Regions from separate parts of the Homo sapiens genome. Here region 1 is linked to region 2. Evidence: promoter capture Hi-C in human tissues and cell types (Jung and others, 2019). All regions are on one chromosome and are shown on one strand. The core of a region is centred on a gene start or on the middle of the fragment in contact, and the rest is flanking DNA. Distances in the headings are between cores, read along the strand shown.

Region 1 (6,036 bases), core at 3,447-5,946, 1.5 Mb before region 2:
GCCAAGAACAAACAAACAGAGGTGTTAACCCTAATGCCAGCCACCCCTACCCCCTCCAGTGCTTCTGAGGGCCTGCACGACACTGTCACCCTGAGCTCCCTGGGGGCAGTCTGGCCTTCTGCTAAATTGTGTAGGCCTCCGAGGTCAGCCCTTCTCTCGATTACCACCTGCTGCTCCTGAGAACTGCCTCCGCCCAGGGCCCCTTGCCCAGTGCCTCACTCCTGCTTCCTTCCAGTAGTCTTCCTCCTGCCTCAGATCTTGTCTCCCGTAACCCTCAGTTTATCTCATTTTTTCCCAGTTCCAAATAATCCTCCATCCACTATGTGATTTCCAACAGTCCATCTCCAGCTCACACACAACCCCTTTGGTGATGACAGGTCACACAGAGGAAGAGTCTGGAGCTTTGAGAAACTGTGGTGGTTTCGTGACAAGCCTGTAGGAATAGGTCTGCTTTGGTTAAGAAGGCTTCATACGCTAACTGCATATAATTCACTCTTTTATAAGGACAGTGAAATCTAACATTCAGGCAGTTTTAGATGAGAAGAGTATAGTGATAGTTTCAACACCCTCCCCAACAACAGTACATTCATGACATCAGAGCCAAAAAAATAAGAGAAGGGGTCTTTGGAGAAATTCTTCAATAAGGTAATCTAGACTCATTTAACACCCTCCTCTCCCTTCAAAACACACACACACACACACACACACACACACACACCCAGGAGAGCTTTCTGGGGCCTATGGCTAGAAATAGAGAGCTCAGGTGTTTCTATCAGCACAATATTACGTGGCATATTCCTCTAAGACAGATGCACCCAGTAGTTCCTCCGACCCACCTACTGAGACAGACACACATAGCACCTCCCCTCCAGGATGAAACAAATGCCTAGCCTCCCCAGCCCCTGCCTCCCCAGGAGAAGGCACACACTAATGCAAGTTTTCCCATAGGCTTTAAAGACAAATCTCTGCAGACTATGCCAGATGGTCTTTTTTTTTTTTCTTTTTCTTTTTTCGCTCTATGCCCTCCTGGCCCCTTCTCCACTTTCCATGGTCCCTCCAACTCAAAGAACTCAATTATCTGCCTGCAGATTTCCCCTTCCCCTCCTCGCAGCCTGCCCTAAACACACCCTCCTCCCAAGCCCATGCAGAGGCACAGAAGGAAGGCCAAGCCAGGGCTCGGAAGGGCTGCTGCCAGGCCTCCTCCAGCCTCAACTATGTGTTCCCCGGGCTTGGCTGCCTCGGCCGACTCTCTTAGGCCCAACGATGGAAATGGGGACGTTTCCAGGGCAATGACAGTTAACAGCTAAGAGGAGTGACAGGAAGGAAGATGTATTCTTCAATCCTTCAGTCCCAACTGCCCCACAGGGAGGTGCTTCAGAAGGCCCAGGCCTCAGAGCCTCCCATCTCCCTGAGGTGCCAGGTGGACCTCCCGTAATGCAGTTCTTAGAATCAGATGCGGTGGGGAGTGGGGCACAGCCTCTCTTAGGTCTAGGCTACCAGTGGGGCCATGATACTTGGATTGCCCTCCTGAATCTGTACACCCCGCCCTTCATTCCAGGGAAAGAGGCTGAACCAGCAGAACCAAGGGTGTCCTTGGCCTGTTCTCCAGTGTATTTCAAAGTTTCATCTTCCCGGGGTGACTGATATCTAATTTGAGAGAGAGAGAGCCCAAGGGGAGAAGGTACAGGAAGCGGAGTAGAAGGAGGAAAGAGGGAGTGAGAACAGGAATGTTACTTTTTAATCCTTAAGGAACATAGACAGATCCAATTTGTGACTCAGCTCTGGGAAGCCGGACTGATGGGAGTCGGGGAACAGCTGCAGCCCCAATCTAAGCTGTGGGCAGCTTCTCCTTCAGGCCTTAGAGGCTGTTGTGACATGACTCAACTAGAAGGGGAGCTGCTTGTTTTGTTTCATTTTTTTAATCTGCCTACTATGGGTCTGCTCAAGGGCTTCTTCCCAGACACCACTCCGGGATATGGCTGGCAGGTCTTCCCCATCCTACAGTAAAGCTGGGGCTGTGGGTGACGCGCTCTAGTATGCCATACGCCCTTTCGACTCAATGAGGACAGACCTGGGACTCTCCTTGCCTGGAGTCTCCCTTCCCCTGCTCTTCCATTCCTTGGCACAGTCCCATGGCATATCAAGAATCTCTGCCCTTGGAATTCCCACTTCCTTGTTTCTTTTTCTTTCCCCATAAGCTGTGGCCTTATGAGTTCCTGAAAGACCTGCCCAGCCCCCAAGAAGCCTTTCGGAGCAATAACACTTTCTCCCAGTTAGAACCCTGCCTTCTAAACCCAGAATGAAGGAGAAAGACCCCTTTGCCCACTGCAGAGTGTGCCCAGCAGGACCCAGCAGGATGAGGGAACCAGGCCTGGCCTCTTTTCCAGCTGCTAAAGTTTATGGTGCCACAACTCTACAGGCAGCTGTGGGACACAGGAAAAGCGACGGGTCTTTTGGAATACCTCTCCTCTATACTATATATAAACACATGAGTCAGGTGACCAAGGAAAGCTTCCTCCCTGCAGGATCGTCTATGAGGCTCCAGTTTTATGGCAAACATCACTCTTATGAAACGACCCAACCCAAGGAAAGCAACATTTGTTTCCTTAAACATCCTGAAGAAGTCTTTTCAGATTTTTCTCATGTTTACTTATAAATGCAGAAAGGAAGAAGGCACTTTATAAAATGAGAGAACCAGAACAGAGAGGCAAAGTGACTTTCCAGAGAGAGTTGGGTCATTCCTCAAGCTTCAATTCACAACACGGTTCGTTAGATAGGACGTGACTTGTTTCAAACTACTTTCATGGAAGTTATCCCACTGGCTCCTCCCAACAGTCCTGTGAAGTTGTTCTTATTACCTCCATCTCACAGGTAAGAATCTGAAGCTCCTATTAGTTAAGATACTTGCCCGTGGCCGCCCTATGGGAACAGAATCTAGCCGTCGACTCAAGTCTAGCAACCCAAATCCATTATTCTTTCTGCTATACCAACAGAAGGAGCAGCAGCTCCTGAAACTGGGTCTCTGCTAGCCCTCTTCACAGATGTGGGGATGGTAAAATTGAAGAGCTCCAACTACACACACAAGTAGAAAAGAAGGCTGAGGTTCTGGATTTACACTGCCAACTGAAGGGGCCACTGGCTCAGTGTTATGCCACATCCCTCCAGCAAAATGTAGGTTTCAACTAAGCAAAGGATCCCTGGAGTGTATGTAGCAAGAGGAATAACTTCAGAAGTGGACCGTCTGAGGTCCAGGGCCATGGAGTTCACCCTTGTGGACCCTCAGGCCACAACCACGATGTATACATGTACTCATTTTAGGGAGCCGGAACTGGGGACATGGCCAGTGCTTGCATTGGCAAGCTGATCCGAAGTTAATCAGAATGCCCCCTCATTGTTTGCCAGAATACAAAAGACATTCTGTTCAGAAAGTTCAAGAAGAAAAACTGAAGAACCAGGACAGCAGCTGTTCCCTCATCCCACAGAGAAACCAAAGGCATTTGCAAAGTTCCCTGAGGCCAAGAAGTGAATTTAAGACATAACATGGCTCAAGTGGAAGCACAACCCCTGATGGGTCTCCGTTGCAGGAAGTGTTTGCTGCATTCATCCTCCTCATAATATTACTGACAACCCCACTACCCTATCACCTATAAAACTGCCTTTCTGGGAGGGTCTCCTTTCCAAGGCCACACAGCTCACCATGTACCACTCCTCTAGGTCAGAACAAGTTTTACCAAAACTTAGGACAATCAGTGTAGGAGTGCACAGCGTGGACACTGCGTGCCCTGAGATTTGGTCAAAATGTAACCAAAGGAATCCACCCGGCACAACTACAGTGCCTCATGTTCCCCAGCTCTTAGCAGCTGCTGCTGAGAGCTCACTCTGGGACATCTGGATGAGAAACCTGTTTGCAGGCCCCCCAACCCCAAGCCAGCCCCCTCCTCCACCTCTTAGGAAAGTCTGTGATCGACCTTTTGATGTGGGAGGACAGCTTGATTCTTACCAAGCTGCCTGGAAGAGAGAGAGTGCAAAACCCCAGCTCAGGCATCCCTGTGACAGTCCCTCTGTCCTAATAAATGCTCTAGAGGGACTTGGAACTCACCACAGGCTCCTGGCTGAGCTTAATTAGCCTTTTTTTTTTTTTTTTTTCCATTACAGGTCAGACATAGCAGCACCAAGAGACAAAACAGACAGTGTTCACTAGGACGAACAAGCGGCTCAAAAGGCACTGGAGTTTCCCTGTAAGAACTACAAACACCACGGGAGTGATGTTAACTCAGATTTTTCCATATAAAAGATTCTTCCTGTAAAAATATCCTGTGCCTTTGTGCTAAATAAAAGTAAAATGATGCTTTTTAGAGTGAAGTCTAAACACCTCAGATTCAGCAAGAGTGAGATCAGCTAGATTTGCAAAGTCAAGAAAATTGGCTGTTTCCCTCCTCCTTAAGCTAATAGAATCCAACTGTTGGAGCATGACATCATTCCTGAGCCCCAAACCCCGAGCAGAGACTACAGACACTCGCCTGACTCCCAGAAAACAGCCGGAGAGAAGGGCCAGGAAAGGAGGCCAAATGATCCCAGCCCGGAGCTGCCCTTACCTGAAAGTCCCGCTGCTTTCCTGCCCACTCCATTCTCACACCGCAGCCGGCTAGGGAGCCCAGGGCCCCCAAATCCACTGGCTTAAGCTCCGATACCTGCTGCGAGCTTCCCACAGCTCCTTCCTCTGACCTTTCGTGGCGCTCCTCGCAGCCAAGTGAGCAGAGCACTGCTAGCCGGCCAGGCCGGTTGTCATGGAGACCCTGTCCTCGCTAGGCGGGCGCGCGCACAGCGGCGCGCTCTTGGCCTAGCGCGTGCACAAGGGCGCTCTCTTTTTCTTTCTTTCTCACTGTCTCTCTCTCTCTCTCTCTCTCTCTCTCTCTCTCAGTTCTGGGAGGCTTCCATGAAACAGCACTGTCTTTTGATCAGCTCGGTTTTTGCATGCATTCCACTCCTCCTACCTCCCTTCCAGTCCAACAGGGGCTCTGAACTGCTCCTGGGAACTTGCTTGAACAGCTCAGAGGGGAGAAGGGAGAAGACAGTGAGTGGACTTGTTTTCTTCCCCTCCAGTGTCTCATTTTTTATAACTTGGAAGAATCCCTGCCAGGGGGGAGGGAGCTAGCTGAAGCGCTTGAAGGGGACCCAGCTTCCTCTGGGTCCTGGAGCTCGGGTAGGAGGGACCCTGATGCGCTGCCTTGACTTGTTTGTGCACTTGGGATTTTTCCGGGCAGCAGTTGGGGCGGAAATGCACTCACATCCCAGGAGCTCGCCTGGACTGGCCTCTCTGCTTACCTTGCTGCCTGTCCAGGTTGTGGCGATGGCTTTAACCAGTGCAGGGACTCATGGTACTAGTGGTGGCGCCTAAGCAGTCTCTCATCTTCCTGAAATGGAGAGCAAAGACAACTCGGTCAGGACCAGGAAGAATCCTGGGCAAGTCGAGAGTCACAACCCAGACGACAAACCTGATACAAATACAGCCTTGTCTCTCTGCCCTGCTAAGGATCTGCAGCTAAGGTGCAGGCTTAGTGGGAGCTGCTGTCACAGTCGGTAATAATATTGCTCCTGTCAGAAAATGAGCACAGTCCCTGGGACACGGCAGACCCCCTAAGTTTAGTCCCATCCCCATCCCCATCCTGTCCCTTCCTCTCCCCCCTACCCAGCATACATTTCTGCTTTGTAACATTCTTTTTACATGTATCATTTTGTTTGATCCTCATAACCTTTTGAAATACACTGCACAGATATTTTTATGACCATTTTTTCAAGTTTATTTATTATTCTTCTTAAATTTCTTTTAGAGACAGGATCTTGCTCCATTGCCCAAGCTGGAATGCATTGGTGCAATCATAGCTCACTACATCATCAAACTCCTGGGCTCAAACAACCCTCCTGCCTCAGCCTCTGAAGTAGCTGGGACTACAGGCATGCACCACCACGCCTGGCTACTTTTTTAATTTTTATTTTTATAGAGACAGGGTCTCACTATGTTGCCCAGGCTGGTTT
Region 2 (6,245 bases), core at 686-3,185:
CTGGGATGACAGGGCATCAGGTCAACAGCTTCCTCTCAAATTGTTGGGGGGCGGGTAGAATTTTTTGTACCATTCTTGCAACTTTTTTGCAAGTCTGTTATTGTTTCAACATTGTTGGCCGGGCGTGGTGGCTCAAGCCTGTAATCCCAGCACTTTGGGAGGCCGAGGCCGGTGGATCACGAGATCAGGAGTTCAAGACCAGCCTGGCCAGGATGGTGAAATCCCGTCTCTACTACAAATACAAAAATTAGCGGGCGTGTTGGCGGGCGCCTGTAAATCCCAGCTACTCCGGAGGCTGAGGCAGAGAATTGCTTCAACCCGGGAGACAGAGGTTGCAGTGAGCCAAGATCGCACCACTGCACTCCAGCGTGGGCAACAGAGCAAAACTCCGTCTCAAAAAAAAAAAAAAAAAAAATTGTTTAAAAGTGGGGAGGGGGGGAGGCGGAACAATGTCACTAAAAACTAAAGGTTAAAAAACTGATTTCCCACACTTAATCTTGATAGAAAAGAAACATCAGACTATGCCAAATTACTAGGAAATAAAATTTTGGATCCAGAAGTTTAAACATTTAAACTTTCTCTTTAACAATTGACCTCAATCAGGTCATGACTGGTGAAAGAGAAAAGAACATGAAAGGTTCCCACTAAAGGAGAGGAAGTTCTTAGGAGAGGAATAATGAAAGAGAGAGTGGACCAAGAGTGGGTAGAACAATGGTATTCTGAGCTACCAATGGCTGTAACCATCAGGAAAACACAATCTCAGCATCTCTGAAAAATGAAGGGGCTGTAGAGCTGATATCTCAAATTCCTTGCAAATGTGGGACTAGAATTGCCCTAAAATAGAAGTGGTTTCCCAGCTCAATTTGTTATTACATTATGCTTAGCTACATAGTAATACAAGAGAATACAAATACAGAAATAAACGTGCATGAACCCTGAATTCTCTTAAGTTGTGGAAGTCCGTCAATTAAAGTGTAAAATACAATGCATTTGCCCAATTGTTCCTTACGACGAAAATTCTGTGACAAATAAAAAGAACAATGAAAACACATTAAAGTGAAACAAGATCACCTTCAGCGGTCAGCTGGCTGTCCTTAGTTAAAAGACAAGTCATGTCACTGTGAAGTGACCGTCACATTTGTCCTGAAAGAATAGGGAGCATTTCCTAGAAAGGGGTAAAAGTGCAAAGAATCCTGTCCCCTTCCCTGGTACCACGCGTTCCTTGGGGAGGTCACTAGGCCCCCAACAGCACAGGGGTGAGTTAGCACTGGACTCTCAGCACTTCCTTTCGGAGAGGACAACCCCCTGCGTCACTGGTTACTCACTCAGGATGCAGGGCAGAAGTTTATCCCCGAGGAACTTAGCACAGTTGGCTCCCGCCCTCCCAGCCTTGCGGTCCTGGGCCCAATCTCAGGGCTCTCTCTGCCCCGGGTACCCTGCAGCCTCCAGCGGGAGGGTCGCGAGACCCCAACTCGCCTCCGGCCCGCCCAGCGGGTGCGCCCAGGGGCTGGGCAGACGCGGCGTCTTCCCTCCCCCTACCGTCGTGCCGGCCCCCCCACGCCCACCGCCAGGCTCAGCCCAGCCGAGAAGGCCGGACGCCGACCGCCCGCTCCTCCGAGACTCGGCCTGGCCCTCCCCGACGCCCGTCCCCGACGCCCGGCCCCGCGGAGCCCACTGGACAGCGGCCGGGGGGCGGGGAGGCCCGGGGGCGGTGCCGCCCCACACCCTTACCTGGCTTCTCGTGGTCATAGCCTACCACGATGAAGTAGTCAGCCAGCCGGGCCATGGCCGCCGCCGCCGCGCTCGGGAAGCGGGTCCCCGTCGCCGCCCTCGCCGCCGCCGCCCACCCGGCCCGGGAGGGCTCAGCATTTTCCCTGCAGCGGCAGTAGCGGCAGCGGCAGCGCTTCAGCCATGTTTGACAACCGAGGCGCGCTCTGCGCTTGCGCGGCGCCTAGTGCCCGCTCCTCCCCCGCCCCCACCCGCGCTGGCTCGGCTGCCCCAAGCCCGGGCGGCGAGCCCACCTCCACCCTCCGCGGGCCTCGCGGACTGCTGCGCTGGGGGAGTGGGCGGTCGGGCGTGTTCCCGCCACGCGCCGCCACCGCGGCCCCTGGAGGTGGTTCACTTTGAGGCCTGGATGCTGCTTCACGGCCCCCTCTGCCTCCCTATTTTTCCTAAAGCAGGGGGTCCTTCCTTCCGCCTTCTCTATTCTGTTTGGATTTGGAAGAAGGGATGTGGAGAGTTGAGGGGTCACTTGGAAAGCTGGCTGCTTCCTCTGCTCCCCACCACCACCAAAGATGAAATTCTCCCGCCCTCGGTTGGAAGCAAGGAATTTGCATCGACAGGGCTTTTGCTGCACGTTTCCTGTTTATGTTGTGTAGATGGGAATTTTAGAAACATGCCACCGAGCAGACGGGGGAGGGAGAGGCTTTTACGCAATCCTCCAAGGAGCCTCGGGTTTCAATGCCGGGTGGGCCGGGGGCGGTCGGCCTGGGCTTCCCCCGGAGCGCCCGGGAGAGCCAGATTCCACCGAGGAACGCGGCATCCCCGGGATCCTCCCGAACTGGGCTGGCCTCTCCCTGGGGAGCCCCGCACGCCTCGGCTTGCTTCCCTCGCAGCGGTCCCAGGGCTCTCGCAGCCCGAGCAGGTGGACTTCCAACTTCCCTGCTCAAACATGCACAAAAATGAATAGATGGTCCCGTCCTTCCGTCTCGGGATTATCAAAGTCGCTTGCTTTTTTGTTGAACCTCCTATTGACCATTTCGAATTTGGCTGGTGTGACATTCAGGTGAACTCACTTTGTCATTTGTTAATATCTCACGAAGTTTTAGTAGAATTTGTACAAGTGGTAGACCAAAGTTTTGGAAATCTCCGTGGTTTAGAAGTTGTCTTTGTGGTTGCTTATCACTGCTCACTATTAATTGAGGGTTTGATCCTTCATATTTACACATAAGACAAGGCCTCTTAGCAAAGCGTCTAGTATATAGTAGGTGCCTACAAAATATTTTAAATGAGTAAATGTGCGATTTTCCCCAACGACCAGCAGGAAGCCGCAATGGCTCCAACTCTGAACTGAGAGAGTTGACATCTCAGCTCCTGAAGATTTACTCTGCTGTAATTTACTATTTCCCCTTTCTCTGCCACACTTGTTTCATCTACAAATTGGGAGGGTTGGGCTGCACTAGAACTGAAACTGAAGGAATACTTTAACTCCAGGACCTCTATGTCAGTTGCTAATGGTAAAACTGAATCAGCTGAATTTGCAAACGTGGAGGGAAGATAGTTTGATCCTGAAAATAATTAAACCAAAAAAAAAAAAACCTCAGTCATACCCCGTGCAGCAATCCTCTCTGTAACTTCCCTGAGAGCTCATCATCCAACTTGATCACTTTCAGTAAAAAGTAATCTTACTTCCTTGGGAGGCAGCGCATTCCACTGTTTAACAGCCCTATTGTTAGAAAGTTCTTCCTTATTATTTCAGAGTTGTCTTACTGTAACTTCCCCTGATTCTGCTCTCCGGAACTATCCAGAAAAAAAAAATCTATCTTCATATGATAGATTTTTAAGGCAGCTATCATATTCCTTCCCAACTTTTCTAAAAATAGGGCAAAATTCACATATTGTAAAATTAGCCACTTGAAAATGTAGAATTCAGTGGCAATTAAGTACATTCCCAATGCTGTACAACTACCATGTCTATCTAGTTACAAAACATTTTCATCACCCAAAAGAAAACCTCACAACCATTAAGCAGTCATTCTCATTCTCCCCTCCCACAGCCCCTGGCAATCACCATTTTGCTTTCTGTCTCTATGGATTTACCTATTATGAATATTTCATATTCATATCATACAATATGTGGGTTTTTTGTGTCTTGGTTTTTCTCACTTAGTATATTGTTCTCAGCTTGTTTACGGGCAGATACAGTACAAGGTTGTAGCATCACATTGAAGTATCAATACTTCATTATTTTTTATGACTCAATAATATTCCATTGTATATTGTGTTAGACTGTTCTCACGGTGCTAATAAAGACATACCCGAGACTAGGTAATTTATAAAGAGAAGAGGTTTAATTGACTCACAGTTCCACATGGCGGAAGGCAAGGAGAGCAAAGCGGCAGACAAGAGAGCTTATGCAGAACTCTCCTTTATACCATCAAATCTCATAAAACTTATTCACTATCACCACAACAGCAGGAGAAAGACCCGCCCCCATGATTCAATTACCTTCCACCGGATCCCTCCCATGACAGGTGGGAATTATGGGGTACAATTCAAGATGAAATTTGGGTGAGGACACAGCCAAACCATATCATATGTATATACCATATTTTGTTTATCTGGAACAACCCATATGGACATATGGGTTGTTTCCACCTTTTGGCATTGTGAATAGTGCTGCTTCAAACATGCATGTACATGTATTTGAGTACCTGTTTTCAATTTTGGGGATATATTCTTGGGATTGGAATTACTGGATTAAGTAGTTCTGTTACTACTGTTTTCCACAGTGGCTGCATCATTTTACATTTTCACCAGCAATGCACTAGGGTTCTGATTTCTCTGCATCTTTGTCAACTCTTGTTTTCCTGTTGTTTATGTTTTGTTATAGCTATCTTAGTGTGAAGTGATATCTCATTGTGGTCCTGTTTTGCCTTTCCCTAAAGACTAATGATGTTGAGGATCTTTTCATGTGTTTATTGGCCATTGCTAAATCTTCTTTGGAGAAATGTCTATTCAAGTCCTTTGCCCATTTTTTAATTGATTCTTTGTCTTTTTGAGGTTGAGTTGTAAGAGTTCTTTATATATTCTGGATACTAGTCCTTGTCAGATATATGATTTGCAGATATTTTCCCATTCTGTACGTTGTCTTTTCATTTTCTTTTTAAAATTGTTATGCCCTATTCCCCCCCCCAAATATTTCCTATTTTTATTTTATTTTTCATTTTATTTTTATGTAGAGATGTTGTATCATGATGTTGCCCAGGCTGGTCTTAACCTCCTGTCCTCAGGCAATCCTCCCACCTAGCCCTCCCAAGGTACTAGGATTAGAGGCATGAGCTTCCACACCCAGACTTCATTTTCTTGATAATGTCCTTTGGCTCAAAAAAGTTTTTAATTTTGATAAAGTCCACTTTTTTAGTTTGTTTCTATGCTTTTAGTGTTATATCTAAAAAATTATTGCCATATTAAAGGTGAGATGAAGATTTACTGGTTTCCTTCATAGTTTTAGCTCTTTAGTACTTTGACCCATTTTGAGTTAATTTTGTAGTGGTAAGGGGTCTTGTTTTACCTTTTAAATGTCTTGGCTTTTATTTCATTTGCAAGTACTCATTTAAATTATTTTAATTTTTTAAAATCAAAGTTTATTGTTTTTAAGCCTAGAATCAAATGCTATTCTGCTTTTAGGCATATTTCATCTGTTACTGTCATAAGTAGACTTCCAGTCCATTTGCAAATGCCCATTTTGTCACACAGAGATTTTAACATATCCTAGGTACATGTAGAAAGGCACTGTGTGTTTGTATATACATGTGAACATATTTTGTATACACTAAAGCTGTGCTTTGCTTCTCAGCCAACAGCTGCCAGCCTGTTGAAACTGATAAGCCCTGACAAGGCAGCCTGATTACTGAGGTTGGCTGAAAGCCAGACCATCCCCTACAATAACCACCATCACCTTTCACCAAAGAGAGAGAGAGTAAAGCAAGCCCAGATTTGTTTTCCTGAAGGCTGATGGGAGCAGGAAGGGAAGAAGGGTATGTAACACTATCATGATGTGTATGTGGCAGATACCTTTCTTTTTTGCTTTAGAAGACGAAATAGATGGAATGCGGTGGCTCACACCTGTAATCCCAGCACTTTGGGAGGCCGAGGCAGGTGGATCACCTAAGGTCAGGAGTTCAAGACCAGCCTGACCAACATGGTGAAACCCTGTCTCTACTAAAAACACAAAAATTAGCTGGGCATGGTGGCAGGTGCCTGTAATCCCAGCTACTTGGGAGGCTGAGGCAAGAGAATTGCTTGAACCCAGGAGGCAGAGGTTGCAGTGAGCCAAGATCGCGCCATTGCACTCCAGCCTGGGCAACAAGAGTGAAACTCCCGTTCAAAAAATTAAAATAAAAAATTTTAAAAAAGACAAAATAGAGCTAATTATCAGTGAGCAAGGCTTATCAGCCCATTGCCCCTAGTGGGCTATTGCGGAGTAAGTGGTTTGATCTGTACAGTCATTTCAAGTGCTTGCT

The links. The method cuts DNA at HindIII sites, captures the fragments that hold promoters and counts their contacts. A contact is called where the count stands out against the background at its distance.
Region 1: a fragment that was not itself captured here is called in contact with the fragment with the promoter of SBF2 in region 2 in 1 of the 25 tissues and cell types used here (hippocampus).

The regions. Positions count from the first base shown.
Region 1 is chr11:8,805,922-8,811,957 of GRCh38, forward strand. DENND2B (DENN domain containing 2B) reads right to left here and starts at 4,753. Exons shown (of 20, transcript NM_213618.2): 1 at 4,596-4,753. DENND2B-AS1 (DENND2B antisense RNA 1) reads left to right here. Exons shown (of 5, transcript NR_120590.1): 5 at 4,156-4,355. RefSeq lists enhancers at 1-176, 177-676. The HindIII fragment of the contact is 4,134 bases long and covers 2,630-6,036 here.
Region 2 is chr11:10,292,284-10,298,528 of GRCh38, forward strand. It overlaps SBF2 (SET binding factor 2), which reads right to left and starts at 1,936. Exons shown (of 40, transcript NM_030962.4): 1 at 1,732-1,936. The coding sequence starts at 1,786. RefSeq lists silencers at 1,334-1,473, 1,514-1,593, 1,624-1,903, 2,024-2,073. The HindIII fragment of the contact is 12,564 bases long and covers 1-6,245 here.